Linked DNA regions of Homo sapiens: region 1 is linked to region 2. The links are contacts of gene promoters, found by promoter capture Hi-C in blood cells and fetal thymus (Javierre and others, 2016). All regions are on one chromosome and are shown on one strand. Each heading gives the region's core, a stretch centred on a gene start or on the middle of the fragment in contact. The rest is flanking DNA. Distances are from core to core; before and after follow the strand shown. Region 1 has its middle 13 kb from the start of EIF2S2. Region 2 holds the start of SNTA1 (syntrophin alpha 1).

What was found. The method cuts DNA at HindIII sites, captures the fragments that hold promoters and counts their contacts. A CHiCAGO score of 5 or more calls a contact.
Region 1: a fragment that was not itself captured here is called in contact with the fragment with the promoter of SNTA1 in region 2 in 1 of 17 cell types (endothelial precursors); the score reaches 5.0 in endothelial precursors.

What each region holds. Positions count from the first base shown.
Region 1 is chr20:34,121,433-34,128,413 of GRCh38, forward strand. It overlaps the pseudogene RPS2P1. Among named protein-coding and RNA genes, the nearest start is that of EIF2S2, 13 kb to the left of the region's middle. RefSeq lists a silencer at 3,262-3,331. The HindIII fragment of the contact is 6,261 bases long and covers 492-6,752 here.
Region 2 is chr20:33,439,188-33,446,690 of GRCh38, forward strand. SNTA1 (syntrophin alpha 1) reads right to left here and starts at 4,576. Exons shown (of 8, transcript NM_003098.3): 1 at 4,124-4,576. The coding sequence starts at 4,433. RefSeq lists silencers at 933-1,111, 4,122-4,181, 4,292-4,771 and enhancers at 5,002-5,071, 5,050-5,550, 5,522-5,581. The HindIII fragment of the contact is 9,847 bases long and covers 1-7,159 here.

The DNA of each region.
Region 1 (6,981 bases), core at 2,372-4,871, 680 kb after region 2:
AATAGAATATCATTCAGCCTTAAAAAGGAAGGAAATTCTGATACATGCCACAATATGGATGAACCTCAAGAACATTATGCTTAGTGAAATAAGCTAGCCACAAAAAGACGAATACTGTGTTATCCCATTTATTTGAGGTACCTAGAATAGTCAAATTCATAGAAAGAGAAAGTAGAATGGCGGTTGCTAGGGGCTAGGGAGAGAGGGGGGAAGAGAGAGTTGTTGTCTAATAGGTACAGAGTTCCAGTTTTGCAAGATGGAAAGAGTTCTGGAAATTGGTTGTACAGCAATGTGAATATACTTAAAAATAGTTGAAAAGATAAATTTTATGGTATTTGTATTTTACCATATTTTTTAAAAAGAGAGCACTAAACTGGGAGACAAAAGACCAAGGTTGGAGTTCTTGGTTGTTTTCCACAGATAGATCAGTCTCAAGGAATTTGAGACTTCCTTGAAACTCAAGGAAGTACTCAAGGAAGTTGAGTAAAGGAAGCTTCTTTACTCATTGTTTCTGTTAATTCATCTTTAAACAGGATAAAAAAGACTGTGGAGTCTAGATTTGTATGAGGATCAAATAAAAACCAAAAAAAACAAACGTTTAAAATAATTTTTTGAGTTGTAGTTGTTCTCAATATTCCAGAGCCTCTGATCTCTTGATATTTGTTACAAGTTTCACATCTTATTTCATAATGAAATGCTAAAGATGCCTCAGCAATAGCCAGTTGACTTCAAAGGTCTTGTATGAGGAATCCTTTTAATTTGGGCTATTCACCTTATAATTTGGTCCTGGGAAAACAGCAAATAAATAAACTTTTATGAGGACTATTTATGATCTAAGATGCTAATTATCAATGTAGTTTAGCATGAACTAATGAAATACAAGCTCAGGATTTTCATGTTAGTATAAAAAAGCTCTTCTTCAACAAATCCCCAAATGGCGGATGACGCCTGTGCAGGGGGCGGCAGGGCGTGGGGTGCGGAGGTCGGGTGGAGGCCGGGCGGAGGCCGGGCGGAGGCCCCCGCAAGCCCTGGGAGGGATGGGGAACCGCGGTGGCTTCCGCGGAGGTTTCGGCGGTGGCATCCGGGGCCAGGGTCATGGCCGTGGACTGGGCCGGAGCCGAGGCCATGGAGCTCGCAGAGGCAAGGCCGAGGATAAGGAGTAGATGCCCGTCACCAAGCTGGGCCACCTGGTCAAGGACATGAAGATCAAGTACCTGGAGGATGTCTCTTCTCCCTGCCCATCAAGGAATCTGAGACCATTGACTTTTTTCTGGGGTCCTCTCTCAAGGAAGAGGGTTTGAAGATTATGCCGGTGCAGAAGCAGACCCGCGCGGGCCAGCGCACCAGGTTCAAGGCGTTTGTTGCCACCGGGGACTACAATGGCCACGTCGGTCTGTGCGTTAAGTGCTCCAAGGAGGTGGCTACTGCCATCCGCGGGTCCGTCATCCTGACCAAGCACTCCATTGTCCCCGTGCGCAGAGGCTACGGGGGAACAAGATGGACAAGCCCACACCGTCCCTTGCAAGGTGACAGGCCGCTGCGGCTCTGTGCTGGTGCACCTCATCCCTGCACCCAGGGGCACTGGCATCGTCTCCGCACCTGTGCCCAAGAAGCTCCTCATGATGGCTGGTATTGATGACTGCCACACCTCAGCCAGGGGCTGCACTGCCACCCTGGCAACTTCGCCAAGGCCACCTTTGACACCATCTCTAAGACCTACAGCTACCTGACCCTCGACCTCTGGAAGGAGACTATATTCACCAAGTCTCCCTATCAGGAATTCACTGACCACCTCGTCAAGACCCACACCAGAGTCTCCATGCAGAGGACCCAGGCTCCAGCTGTGGCTACAGCATAGGGTTTTTATACAAGAAAAACAAACTGAATTAAGCCTGAAAAAAAAAAAAAAAGCTGGTCTCAAATTAGGGGCCAACATGGAAGAATTAATATCTGTTGAGTACTTACTAAGTGTCAGGCCCTATAGATGTTACATGCATTATCTCATTTAATACTCAACAACAGCCTTGTCAGGTTAAAAGTATTATACCCATTTTATAAACAGGTTAATGAAGGCTCAGAGAGTGTCAGTCACTTACCCAACATAACCCAGTGAGTAACAGAGATGGAATTTGAGCCCAAGTCTGTGTGAATCTGAAGCCCATATTATTTCTACTATGTTACAGTGCCTCTGAAAATATATTTAACTGTGCCTACTTCTAATAGAGTTTATGATAAATGATATATATTTGATGTTTATATATTTATATCAATTATTTTACTTCATCATTACAAGTAAGATAGACTATCTAGGGATGATTATCACCACTTTACAGATGAGGAAACAGATGGTCAGAAAATTTAACTTACCTAGCTTCAGACCAGTAAATGATAATAACAGGGCTTGGACACATGTACCGCAACTCTCAGACTCCTACTTTTTCCACATTGGCCTATGAGAGTAGAATTTTATCTATATTTTACCTATGAATTTTCTTTTTTTTTTTTTTTTTTTTTTTGGAGACGGAGTCTTACTCTGTCGCCCAGGCTGGAGTGCAGTGGTGCAATCTTGACTCACTGCAACCTCTGTCCCCCAGCTTCAAGCGATTCTTCTGCCTCAGCCTCCCAAGTAGCTGGGAGGGATTACAGTCGCCTGCCACTGTGCCTGGCTAATTTTTGTATTTTTAGTAGAAATGGGGTTATATCATCTTGGCCAGGCTGATCTTGAACTCCTGACCTCATGATCTACTCGCCTTGGCCTCCCAAAGTGCTGGATTACAGGCGTGAGCCACCTCGCCCAGCCATATCTATGAATTTTCTGGTTCTAACTTTTTTTAATAGGAGCAAAGAGTGGACATCTTGACAGTCTTGCACTTCTGTTTATGCTTGGACAGATTAAACACATATGTTTATCCCTGTTCACTCCCCAAATCACTGAAGTGACAGTGAGTTAACATTTTTAGGTTTACCAGTCTACAGACAAAGAGAATAAGAAAGAAATCAATAGCAGATTAAGGATATCAACAAATTTTTGGAAGATGGAAAACCATAGCTGAGCTGAGAAAACAATTCTAAATGTTTGCTGAGGGTTATACTAACAAGGGACAAACAGATTCGTACTGCAGAACACTAGAATGTCAGGACTGGGACAGAGCAGATCAGAGGTGATGTGAGAGGCAGAAGAGAGAGGGTTTGGCTGAAAGCCTTTATAGGAAGTGAAACTGCCAGGTCTTTTTCTCCATCCTACTCACTTAGACAACTACCCTTTCATCTCCCTAGCAGCCCCTGGGACAAAATTGAGGTAGAGAAGTTCCAGACACTGAGATACCAGGCACAGCTAAAGATATAATAGCAGGGAGGCTAAGGTAGGAGGATTTCAGACTGAAAACAGAGATTAGATGAATTGTCTACATGCTGAATGGTGAAGCGCACTCAGTCCTCCTGCTGAAATTTATTCCAGGAATGCTGACAGCAAGGCTTGTATTCTCCAGGCAAGATATCAGGGAATTAATTTTAATTAATTAACCCCAGAGGAAAGATCTATACATACTGATATTTGAGGTCCCCCAACAAAACACCTAGGTACCCACTTTATCATCCTACAGATAAACTTCCTGTTAACACAGAGCTTCCAAATACTTAGTGACTCACTCTTAAATATGAAGAGACAACAAAGGGTCACCAGATATTTAAGATAAACCTCCACCAGGAAAGACAGCATCAAATAGAGAAAAAAGAAACTCAAAGGGAACAGAAACTGAAGAGAACAGAAAAATATTTTTAAAAAACAATAAGCAGTCTATGAGAGATAATAGAAAATACTGCATCCATAAAGCAAAGATAAAATGCTCTAAAAAAAATAGAGTAAGTAACAGCTCTGGGGAATTAAAAATATAATAGAAAAATTGGCTGGGCATTATGGCTCATGCCTGTAATCCCAGCACTTTGAGAAGCCAAGGTAGAAGGATTGTTTAAAGCCAGGAGTTCAAGACCAACCAGGGCAATATTAGATAGACCTCTTCTCTGCTAAACATTCTTTTAAAAAGAGAAATTAGGCTTGGTTCAGTGGCTCACGCCTGTAATCCCAGCACTTTGGGAGGCCGAGGCGGGCGGATCACGAGGTCAGGAGATCGAGACCATCCTGGCTAACATGGTGAAACCCCATCTGTACTAAAAATACAAAAAATTAGCCGGGCATGATGGCGAACACGTGTAGTCCCAGCTACTAGGGAGGCTGAGGCGGAAGAATGACATGAACCCAGGAGGCAGAGCTTGCAGTGAGCCGAGATCACACTACTGCACTCCAGCCTGGGCAACAGAGCGAGACTCCATCTCAAAAAAATAATAAATAAATAAATAAATAAATAAATAATAAAAAAAGAAAAAAAATTAGCCAGCTGTGGTGGCTCATGCATGTGGTCCCAGCTACTTAGGAGGCTGAGTCAGGAGGGCTGCTCAAGCCCAGGAGATGGAGGCTGCAGTGAGCTATGATCATGCCACTGCACTCCAGCCTGGGCAATACAGCAAGACCTGTTCTCAAATAATAATAATAGAAAAATAAATAATTTATATAAGTCTTAATATATAAAGTTGAGGAAATCTCTCAGAAAGTAGAACAGAAATACAAATGGAAAAATAAAAGAGAAAAGATAATTAGAGGATGAATCCATAAGGTCGACCATTAGATTAACAGGAGTTCTGGAAATACAGAAGAAATGGAAGAAAATTATCAAAGAAACTGAGTTTCCAGAGTGGCAGAGCCTGCTGAGTGCCCAGCATAATGAAAGAAAACAAAACAAAGGAAAAACATTATGGCACATCATCATGAAATTTTTTAACACAAAGGATAAAGAGAAAATCAAAAATCTTGGTGATAGGAGGTGAGGAGGGGGCAGGGAAAGGGCAACAGGTTACTTATGAAAGAGCAGGTAATAGGAATAGCATTTTTGTCCATAGTAACATTAGTGGCTAGAAGACGATATAGGGAGGCTTTCAAAATTCTGAGAGAAAATACGTTTTCAATCTAGAACTCCTATACTAAGCCATATTATCAGTCAAGTATGAGGAATAAATAAGTATATTTTTAGGCATGCAAGGATCAGAAATTTACCCCTCATCCCCACATAACTTTTCTTAGGAAAGCACTGGAGGATTTGCTCTAGTAAAACAAGAAAGACAGAAAAAAAATCCTAAAATTTGTATGGAACAAAAAGTCCAAATAGTCAAAGCAATCCTAAGCAAAAAGAACAAAGCTAGAGGCATCACACCACCTGAATTTAAAATATACTGCAAGGCTCTAATAACCAAAACAGCATGGTATTGATATAAAAACACAGACCAAGGGAACAAAAAGAGAACCCAGAAATAAATCCACGTACAGCCAATTGATTTTTGACAAAGGTACCAAGCACATACATTGGGGAAAAATGTTGTTGGGAAAACTGGATATCCATATCCAGAAGAATGAAACTAAACTCCTGTCTCTCACCATACGCAAAAAATCAACTCAAAATGTATAGGGAAAAGAAAGAGCGATCAGACTGTTACTGTGTCTATCTAGAAAAAGTAAGACAAAAGAAACTCCATTTTGATCTGTACTAAGAAAAATTGTTCTGCTTTGAGATGCTGTTAATCTGTAACTCTTGTCCCAACCCTGTGCTCACAAAAACATGTGCTGTATTGACTCAAGTTTTAAGGGATTTAGGGCTGTGCAGGATGTGCTTTGTTAAAAATGTTTTTGCAGCCAGGCGCAGTGGCTCATGCCTGTAATCCCAGCACTTTGGGAGGCCGAGGCGGGCAGATCATGAGGTCAGGAGATCGAGATCATCTTGGCTAATATGGTGAAACCCTGTCTGTACTAAAAATACAAAAGATTAGCCAGGCGTGGTGGCGGGCCCCTGTAGTCCCAGCTACTCGGGAGGCTGAGGCAGGAGAATGGCATGAACCTGGGAGGCGGAGCTTGCAGTTAGCCGAGATTGAGCCACTGCACTCCAGCCTGGGTGACAGAGCAAGACTCCGTCTCAAAAAAAAAAAAAAAAAAAAAATCACACCTGTAATCCCAGCACTTTGGGAGGCTGAGGCGGGCAGATCACGAGGTCTGGAGATCAAGACCATCCTGGCTAACACGGTGAAATCCCGTCTCTACTAAAAATACAACAAATTAGCTGGGCGTGGTGGTAGGCGCCTGTAGTCCCAGCTACTCGGGAGGCTGAGGCAGGAGAATGGCATGAACCCAGGAGGCAGAGCTTGCAGTGAGCCGAGATCGTGCCACTGCACTCCAGCCTGGGCGACAGCGCAACACTCCTTCTCAAAAAAAAAAAAAAATGTGTTTGCAGGCAGTATGCTTTGTGAAAGTCATCGCCATTCTCCATTCTCTATTAATCAGGGACACAATGCACTGTGGAAGGCCGCAGGGACCCCTGCCCAAGAAAGCCTGGGTATTGTCCAGGTTTCCCCGGACTGAGACAGCCTGAGATATGGCCTCGTGGGGAGGGAAAGACCTTACAGCCCCCCAGCCCGACACCCGTAAAGGGTCTGTGCTAAGGAGATTAGTGAAATAGGAAGGCCTCTATGCGGTAGAGATAAGAGTGTGGCATCTGTCTCCTGCACGTCCCTGGGAATGGAATGTCTCGGTGTAAAACCCGACCATACATTCTATTTACTGAGATAGGAGAAAACCTCCTTATGGCTGGAGATGAGACATCATGGCGGCAATACTGCTCTGTTACTCTTTACTGCACTGAGGTGTTTATGTAAGCTTAAACATAAATCTAGCGATTGTGCACATCCAGGCACAGCACCTTTTCTTAAACTTATTCATGACACAGAGTCTTTGCTCACATGGTCTTCTGCTGATCCTCTCCCCACCTTCACCCTATAGCCCCGCCACATTCCCCTTGCTGAGATAGTAAAGATAGTGATCAATAAATACTGAGGGAACTCAGAGACCAGCGCTGGTGCAGGTCCTCACTTGCTGAGCGCCGG
Region 2 (7,503 bases), core at 3,326-5,825:
GGGACACTAGTAACACTAATAATAAATCATTTTTGATTAGGTCCGGTGGCTCATGCCTGTAATCCCAGCACCTTAGAAGGCTGAGGTGGGCAGGTCACCTGAGGTCAGGAGTTCAGGATCAGCCTGGGCAACATGGGAAAACCCCGCCTCTACTAAAAATACAAAAATTAGCCAGGCACCTGTGGTCTCAGCTACTAGGGAAGCTGAAGTAGGAGGATCACTTGAGCCCAGGAGGTCGAGGCTGCAGTGAGCTGAGATTGTGCCACTGCACTCCAGCTTGGGTGGCAGAAGGAGACCCTGTCTCAATAAATTAATTAATTAAATAAATCATTTTCAAAATTCATAATGCTATAGTTTGATCCCTGGATCTTTTGATTAAGTGCTTTGGGTGTTCACCAGTGTTTGTGCAACTTACAAAGTGCTTCAATCACTTTTTCTTAAATGTTTTCGATTTTCTCATGTAACCCATAAATATATATGCCTACTATGTACGCACAAAAATTAAAAATGAAAATAACCGGACAAAGTGGCTCACACCTGTAATCCCAACACTTTGGGAGGCCAAGGTGGTCGGATCACTTGAGACCAGTAGTTTGAGACCAGCCTGGCCAACATAGCGAAATCCTGCCTCTACTAAAAACACAAAAAAGGGCCAGGTGCGGTGGCTTATGCCTGTAATCCCAGCACTTTGGGAGGCCAAGGCTGCCAGGTGGATCACCTAAGGTCAGGAGTTCGAGACCAGCCTGGCCAACATAGTGAAACCCTGTCCCTACCAAAAATACAAAAAATTAACTGGGCGTGGTAGCGGATGCCTGTAATCCCAGCTACTCGGGAGGCTGAGGCAGGAGAATCACTTGGACCCAGGAGGCGGAGGTTGCAGTGAGCTGAGATCACGCCATTGCTCTCTAGCCTGGGCAACAAAAGTGAAACTCTGCTCAAAAAAGTAAATAAATACATAATAAAAAAATAAACAAATAAAAAAATATGGCTGGGCGTGGTGGCTCACGCCTGTAATCCCAGCACTTTGGGAGGCCAAGATGGGCAGATCACCTGAGGTTAGGGGTTCAAGACCAGCCTGGCCAACATGGCAAAACCCCATCTCTTCTAAAAGTACAAACATTAGCCGGGCATGGGGGCGCATGCCTGTAATCCCAGTTACTCGGGAGGCTGAGTCAGGAGAATTGCTTGAACCGGGAGGCTGAGGTTGCAATGAGCCAAGATTGCACCATTGCACTCCAGCCTGGGCAATAAGAGCGAAACTCCATCTCAAAAAATAAATAAATAAATAAATAAATACAAACACAAAAAATTAGCTGGGCCTGGTGGCACATGCCTGTAGTCCCAGCTACTCAGGAGGCTGAGGCAGCAGAATTGCTTGAACCCAGGAGGTGGAGGTTGCAGTGAGCCAAGATCACACCACTGCACTCCAGCATGGGCGACAGAACAAGACTCCATCTCAAAATAAAACAAAAATACAAAAATTAGCCAGGCATGGCGGTGTGTGCCTATAATTCCAGCTACTCAGGAGGCTGAGGCACGAGAACTGCTTGAACCCAGGAGGTGGAGATTGCAGTGAGCCGAGATCGCACCACTGCACTCCACCCTGGGCAACAGAGCAAGACTGTCTCACACACACACACAAAAAGGCAACAATGTGGGAACCCACTGATACCCCTCAAACCGGAATCAAGAGACAAGTCGGCTATTCCTATGGCCTCAAAAGACTGCTTTAGCAATCATAATGTTTTACAATCCAAAGTCCAGGCTGGAAACCAAAGCCTTAGAGTCTAGAGATTCTAAAAACCTGCCTGAATGGCATCTTGGATACAAAAGAAGCTAATACATTTTACTAAACATCTTTATTACCAAACTCTTAAATGCCCTTTTAAAATAAGAAATAGTAATAAGAGTTCACCTTAGTTGCACTTACCAAATGCCAAGCACTGTGCTAAATGCTTTCAATGTTGATTCATTGCGTCTTTACAATACCCCATCACATAGGTATGTTCAGTTTCCTATTAGGGAAACTGAAGTGTGGAGGGAAGCCCCTTGTCCAAGGTCACTCCACTAGTAAGTAGCGAAGCCAGTATTTGCACCTAGGCCTCCAGGCTCCAGAACCAACACTATTAGCCCTACCACAGACGACAAGTCAGGCCCTCAGATATCACACTCCTGGCTCATCCCCAGAATACTGAAGATGAAGAATTAGTGGCCCAGAGTGGGAGGTCATTGTTCCAAGGTCACACAAGTCTGGTGGCGGAGCTGGGACTGGAACACCTCTCTTGACGCCCACACAGGCCCGACCGTTTGCTTATCTGCACAGAGCTTGAAGTCTAGGAGAGGAAGGGGTTTCTATTTATATCTGCCCTCCCCCACCTGAAACTAGGGGCTTCAGTTCAGTTTGAAGCTATGATCACTCATGGCTGCCTCAGACTAAGCTAGACTTTATAGGAGGGGTTACCATGGCAACAGGAGCCCAGATTTGGATCCAATGGAAATACCTGAAGTCTCCTAAAAGTACCCTCCCCTCCACCTAGAATTATGGAGCTGGGGAGTAACTTTGTGTGACCTTGCAAAGTCCCTGCTCCTCTCTGAGTCTCAGTGTGTCCATCTGCAGAATGGAATTCTGTATGAATAAGTTCCTTCCTGCTTTGACACACTGAGTGTATAATTTTTGGATTCATCTGTTGCCCTATCCCATGCTGGAGATTGGGGGTAAGACTGGTGCCCATACCCTCATTTTCTCATTTCTCCTTTTTAGCCCCTCTTGGTTGGCTGCCTGGGGATCTGCCCTTCTACAGGAAAGAATCAACTTCCCTGAGCACTCTCTGAGGGACAGTAGCTGATAATTAAGGTTCAAATCCCAGCACTGACACTCACTATGTAATCGTGGGAAAATCATTTTAACTTTCTGAGTCTCAGTTTCTTCACCTGCAATATGGGAATTATACTCCCTACCTTTCACCACTTGTTGCCAGGATGAAGTGGATCATGAGACTAGTGTCCTGGGCACAGCACCTGGCACACAGTGGTGGCATTCACCACCATCCCCACCGCCTCAGCCAAGCCAAACGGTCTGGAGGCACTAGTCAACAGAACCAGTACCAGGGAGACCCCAGAGGGTACGGTATGTATTCAAGGTGGAGACAAAGGCTGATACCCTTTCCCAAAGCACCTGCTGGGGGCTGGGACCCTGAGAAACAGATGGGCAGGAATAGTGAACCCAGCAGCTGGGGGTGTGCAAGGATTTTAACAACTATGTTTAGTTGCTTTGGGAGTATCTGCTGGCCTCCATTTTTCCTCTCCGCTAACAGCAGTAATTAACTAGGCACCTACAGTGTGCTGGTGTGGTGAGCCCTGCTCTCAGAAACATCACAACTCTGTCATCCTCTTATACAGTTGAGGAAACAGATTCAGAGGCGGGACGGGACTTTTGCAACCTCACACAGCTGATCCTGGATTCAAACACAGTCTGGTTGCACCCTAACTGCACCCCACTAGCGGTCAGTCCTGGGGGCTGAAAGCTCTATCCTGTGCAAGGTGGAGATAGTCAGATCAGGAGACCCAAATCCAGCTGTCAGGGCTCCCTGCAGCCTTCCTGGGTCCTTAGATTCCTAGGTCCTTGCTGGCCTTCTGCCTGTGACCCCAGCCTGTGCCTGCACCCAGGCCTCCTATCCACCCCTGTGCTTCCCAGACTCCAGGCTTCCCCTCTGCACCCACCTTGGTTGCTTCTCAGGGACTCCCTCCTCCCTGTCCCACTGGTGTCCCGGCCTCAACCCCCTTTCTCCACACTCTGCTTTCCGGGGGACCCCTCTTGTCCTTGATGTTCATGCTGGTTACCCCTCAGACCCCCCCGCCTCCACACAGAACTCCCACCCACGTGTCCTTGGTGCTCCCACAATCTTATCCACACCTGTGTCTTCCGTGCCCCCTAAGGCCACCAACTACTGAAACCCCCTCCAACCTTGGTGTGCCCAGTGCCCTCCGTTACCTGTTTCCTCAGACCCCCCTTACCCCCAGACAGGAAGCCTCCAGCTCCATGTCCTGGGCGCGCTGCCAGCCCCCTGCGCCCTCGGCTGCCCCCAGACACCACGACCCCGCGCCCTCGGTGTCCCGCGCCCACCTTTGATGCTGATGCCCAGCCCACCGGCGTCGGCCTTGCGCACCGTCACGCGGCGCCGCTGGAGCAGTAGCGCCTCTGGCAGCTGCGGGGGCCCGGCGCCCGGCTCCGCGGCGCCGTTGAGCTGCGCGGGCTCCTGCTCCCGCGGAGCGCCGGGCTCGGGACCAGGGTCGCCGTCGGCGGGGCTCACGGTCAGCACGTCCTCCGCCAGACTCAGCAGCACCCGCTGCCATCGCTCGCCGCCGGCCCCCGAGCCCGCCCCGGCGCGCAGCTCCAGCAGCCCGGTGCGCGGGGCGCGCCTGCCGGACGCCATCTTCGCCTCCGAGCCCCCGGGCCGCCGCGCTCGCCCTGTCCCGCTTTGCCCAGCCCGCTCCGACCAAGCGCCCAGGGCAGAGGGCAGCGGGGGCCCGGCTGGGCCAGCCGCCACCCTACCCCGGCCGCTGGGGGAGGAGCTCTGGGGGCGGGGCTACCCTGGGGTGTGGCCAGTGCTGGGGAGGGGGCCTCGGGCAAATGCAGGAGGCCGGGGCGGGGCCCGGGAGCCGAGGGCCGCCGTGTGGGACTACCTAGCGGGGTGGGTCAGAAGGGCGGCGGGGCGGGCCACTAAGTAAGGCGAAAGCCCGGGAGGCGTGGTGCTGGGCGGGGCGTCAGGGGGCGGGGCTTCGCGTCGGGGGCGGAACCCAGTGAGCCCGCGCAGGGGGCTCGGCGCTCGGAATGCCCATCGAGGGCCGGGACTGTAACTCCCGGACGTGGGAGCGCATGAAAAAGAGACAGAACCACGTATCCTGGTGCGAAGCACTGGGCATCGGGCTGGGCTGCATATGGCGGAGGGCTGGGCTGCGTATGGTAGAGCGTTGGACTCCAAGGCTTGAGTTTAAGAGGTAGACACCGTCTGGGCGTGGAGGCTCACGCCTGTAATCCCAACACTTTGGGAGGCCTAGATGACAGCCCAGAAGCTCGAGGCTGCAGTAAGCCGCGATCGCGCCACTGCACTCCAGCCTGGGTGACAGAGCGAAACCCTGTGTCAAAAAAAAAAAAAAAAAAAAAAGGTAGATGCTGAGCCGCGAGAGACCTTGCGGGCACAGTTGCTAGTTGGGGAGCTGAGGAAGAAGTTGGTTTCCTATCGGGGAGGGCGGGGGATGGGGGGTGGGGGTCGAGGCTTTGGTCTGTGGGCGTGGCTTATCGCTGGCGTGGCTTCTAAAGATGACAGGCCCCGCCCCCTGGAGGAGACCGCTACCGACACCGCTTAGGGCTTGGGGGAGGTGTGGGCAGGATCCCCACTTCAAAACTGGAGGGAAGTTTAAGAGATTAACCCCTGGCTGTGTTCACAGTCGAGTATAGAAAAGCCTGAAGTCCCACACTTTGAGGCCTGGCAGAAAAAAAACAGAACTGGTGTGTGGGAAGAGGGTTGCAAGGTGGGGCTCTGGGTCTGGGCGACTGGAGACATGGTTTCTAATCTTTGCTGCCTCTGTTAGCTCCAAGTCGACTTTGGTCCCCTCACGTCACTGCTCTAGGCCTCAATTTCCTCATCTGTAAAATGTGGATCATAATAATACCTACTTCACTGGGCTGGTGTGAGGATTAAATCAATGTGAAAACACGTGGTAAACTGTGACTCCCTATTCTATAGAAATAATCACTTTCATTTAGTGAATGCTTACTCTTACCTAGGGCTGGCAGAATATTTTCCAAGTGTTATCTTTACATTAGCCTCCTGGAGTAGCTAAGAGCACCCCCAGCTGGGCACAGTGGCTCACACCTGTAATCACAGCTGAGGTGGCAGGATCGCTTGAGCCTTGGAGGTCCAGGCTGCAGTGAGCTGTGATTGCACCATCACACTCCAGCCTTGGTGACAGAGCAAGAAAAAAGAGCACCCCTATTATACAGAAGGGAAAACTTGGATTTAGTCTAATTGGCCTAGGTCACACATTTATGAGTGAGGAAGAGCTGCGATTCAAACCCAGGCCTGTTTGACACCAGTGCCTGGGCACTGAACCACTCTGCTAGACAGCTGACAAATACAGAGGTAAAGCATGATTGTAATCTGAAAAATCCACCACATCACACAGCTCAACTGGCCTTCATACCTGCTCCTTGTCTCTATCCTCCATTCCTAGCTGGGATATGTTGAGCAATAAATAAGTAGGACTACACCAGTGTTTAGCCTCCCTGAACTTTTGGGTAAAATCCTCCACATAAGATACCATCAAGAAAAAAAAGAGGGGGCCAGGTATGGTGGCTCATGCCTGTAATCCCAGCACTTTAGGAGGCCGAGGCAGGTAGATCACGAGGTCAGGAGTTTGAGACTCAGCCTGGCCAACATGGTGAAACCCCATCTCTACTAAAAATATAAAAAAATTAGCCGGGCGTGGTGGCAGACACCTATAATCCCAGCTACTCAGGAGGCTGAGGCAGGAGAATCACTTGAACCCGGGAGGCGGAGATTGCAGCAAGCAGAGATTGCACCACTGCACTCCAGCCTGGGTGATAGGGTGAGACTCCGTCTCAAAAAAAAAAAAAAAAAAAACCAACAACAAAAAAAAGGAATTGTTTTAAGTTAGAGTGGTAGGTGTCAAAACAGGAGAGACACAGGTTTTAAAAAAAGAACCCAGGGTCTTTTATACATATATATATGGGATGCCGAGGAGGAATGATCACTTGAGGCTAGGAGTTTGAGACCACTTGGGCAACTTCACGAGACTCCATCTCTACAAAATAAAGAAATTAGCCAAGCGTGGTAATGTGCACCTGTACTCCCAGCTACTTAGGAAGCTGCAGCAGGAGGCCTGTTTGAGGCTGCTGCTGTGAGCCACAATCATGCCACTGCACTCCAGCCTGGGTGACAGAGCAAGACCCTGTCTCAAAAATAAATAAAAGAAAGTGAGAGGAAGGAAGGAGAGAAGGGAGGCAGGGAAGGAATATAGCATTGTATATAAGCATTGATATCTTAAAAGTATGACTGTGCTTAAAGATTGTAGGACAGCCTGAGGAATTTGGGGTAAGCACTTGTGATAAATAACTACAGCCTACTTGGCTTGTGGAAGCTTCACTCCAATGGTAGAGAAGGGAGGGGAGGACAGACCTGGCAGGAGGCAAGAGACCAGCAGGGAATTGAAGCTCCTTTCCCAAGACCAAAGCCTGGAACCAGATCCTTAAAAGTCCCCCCACGTACTGCCCTGCTTAAAAAAGACTTAATGAGGCCCAGACAAACTTACTGAGAAAGAGCCCTAAGAGAGGGCTTCTCCTCTGGGGGACAGTTTCCTGTGGATATAACAGGAAGGAAGGAAGTAGGGAAAGGAGTGATGTGTGCAAAGGGGCTAACACAGAAAGAAGATGTAGAGCCAAGGAAACAGTGACGTGTGTATGCATATGTATACGTCTGTATG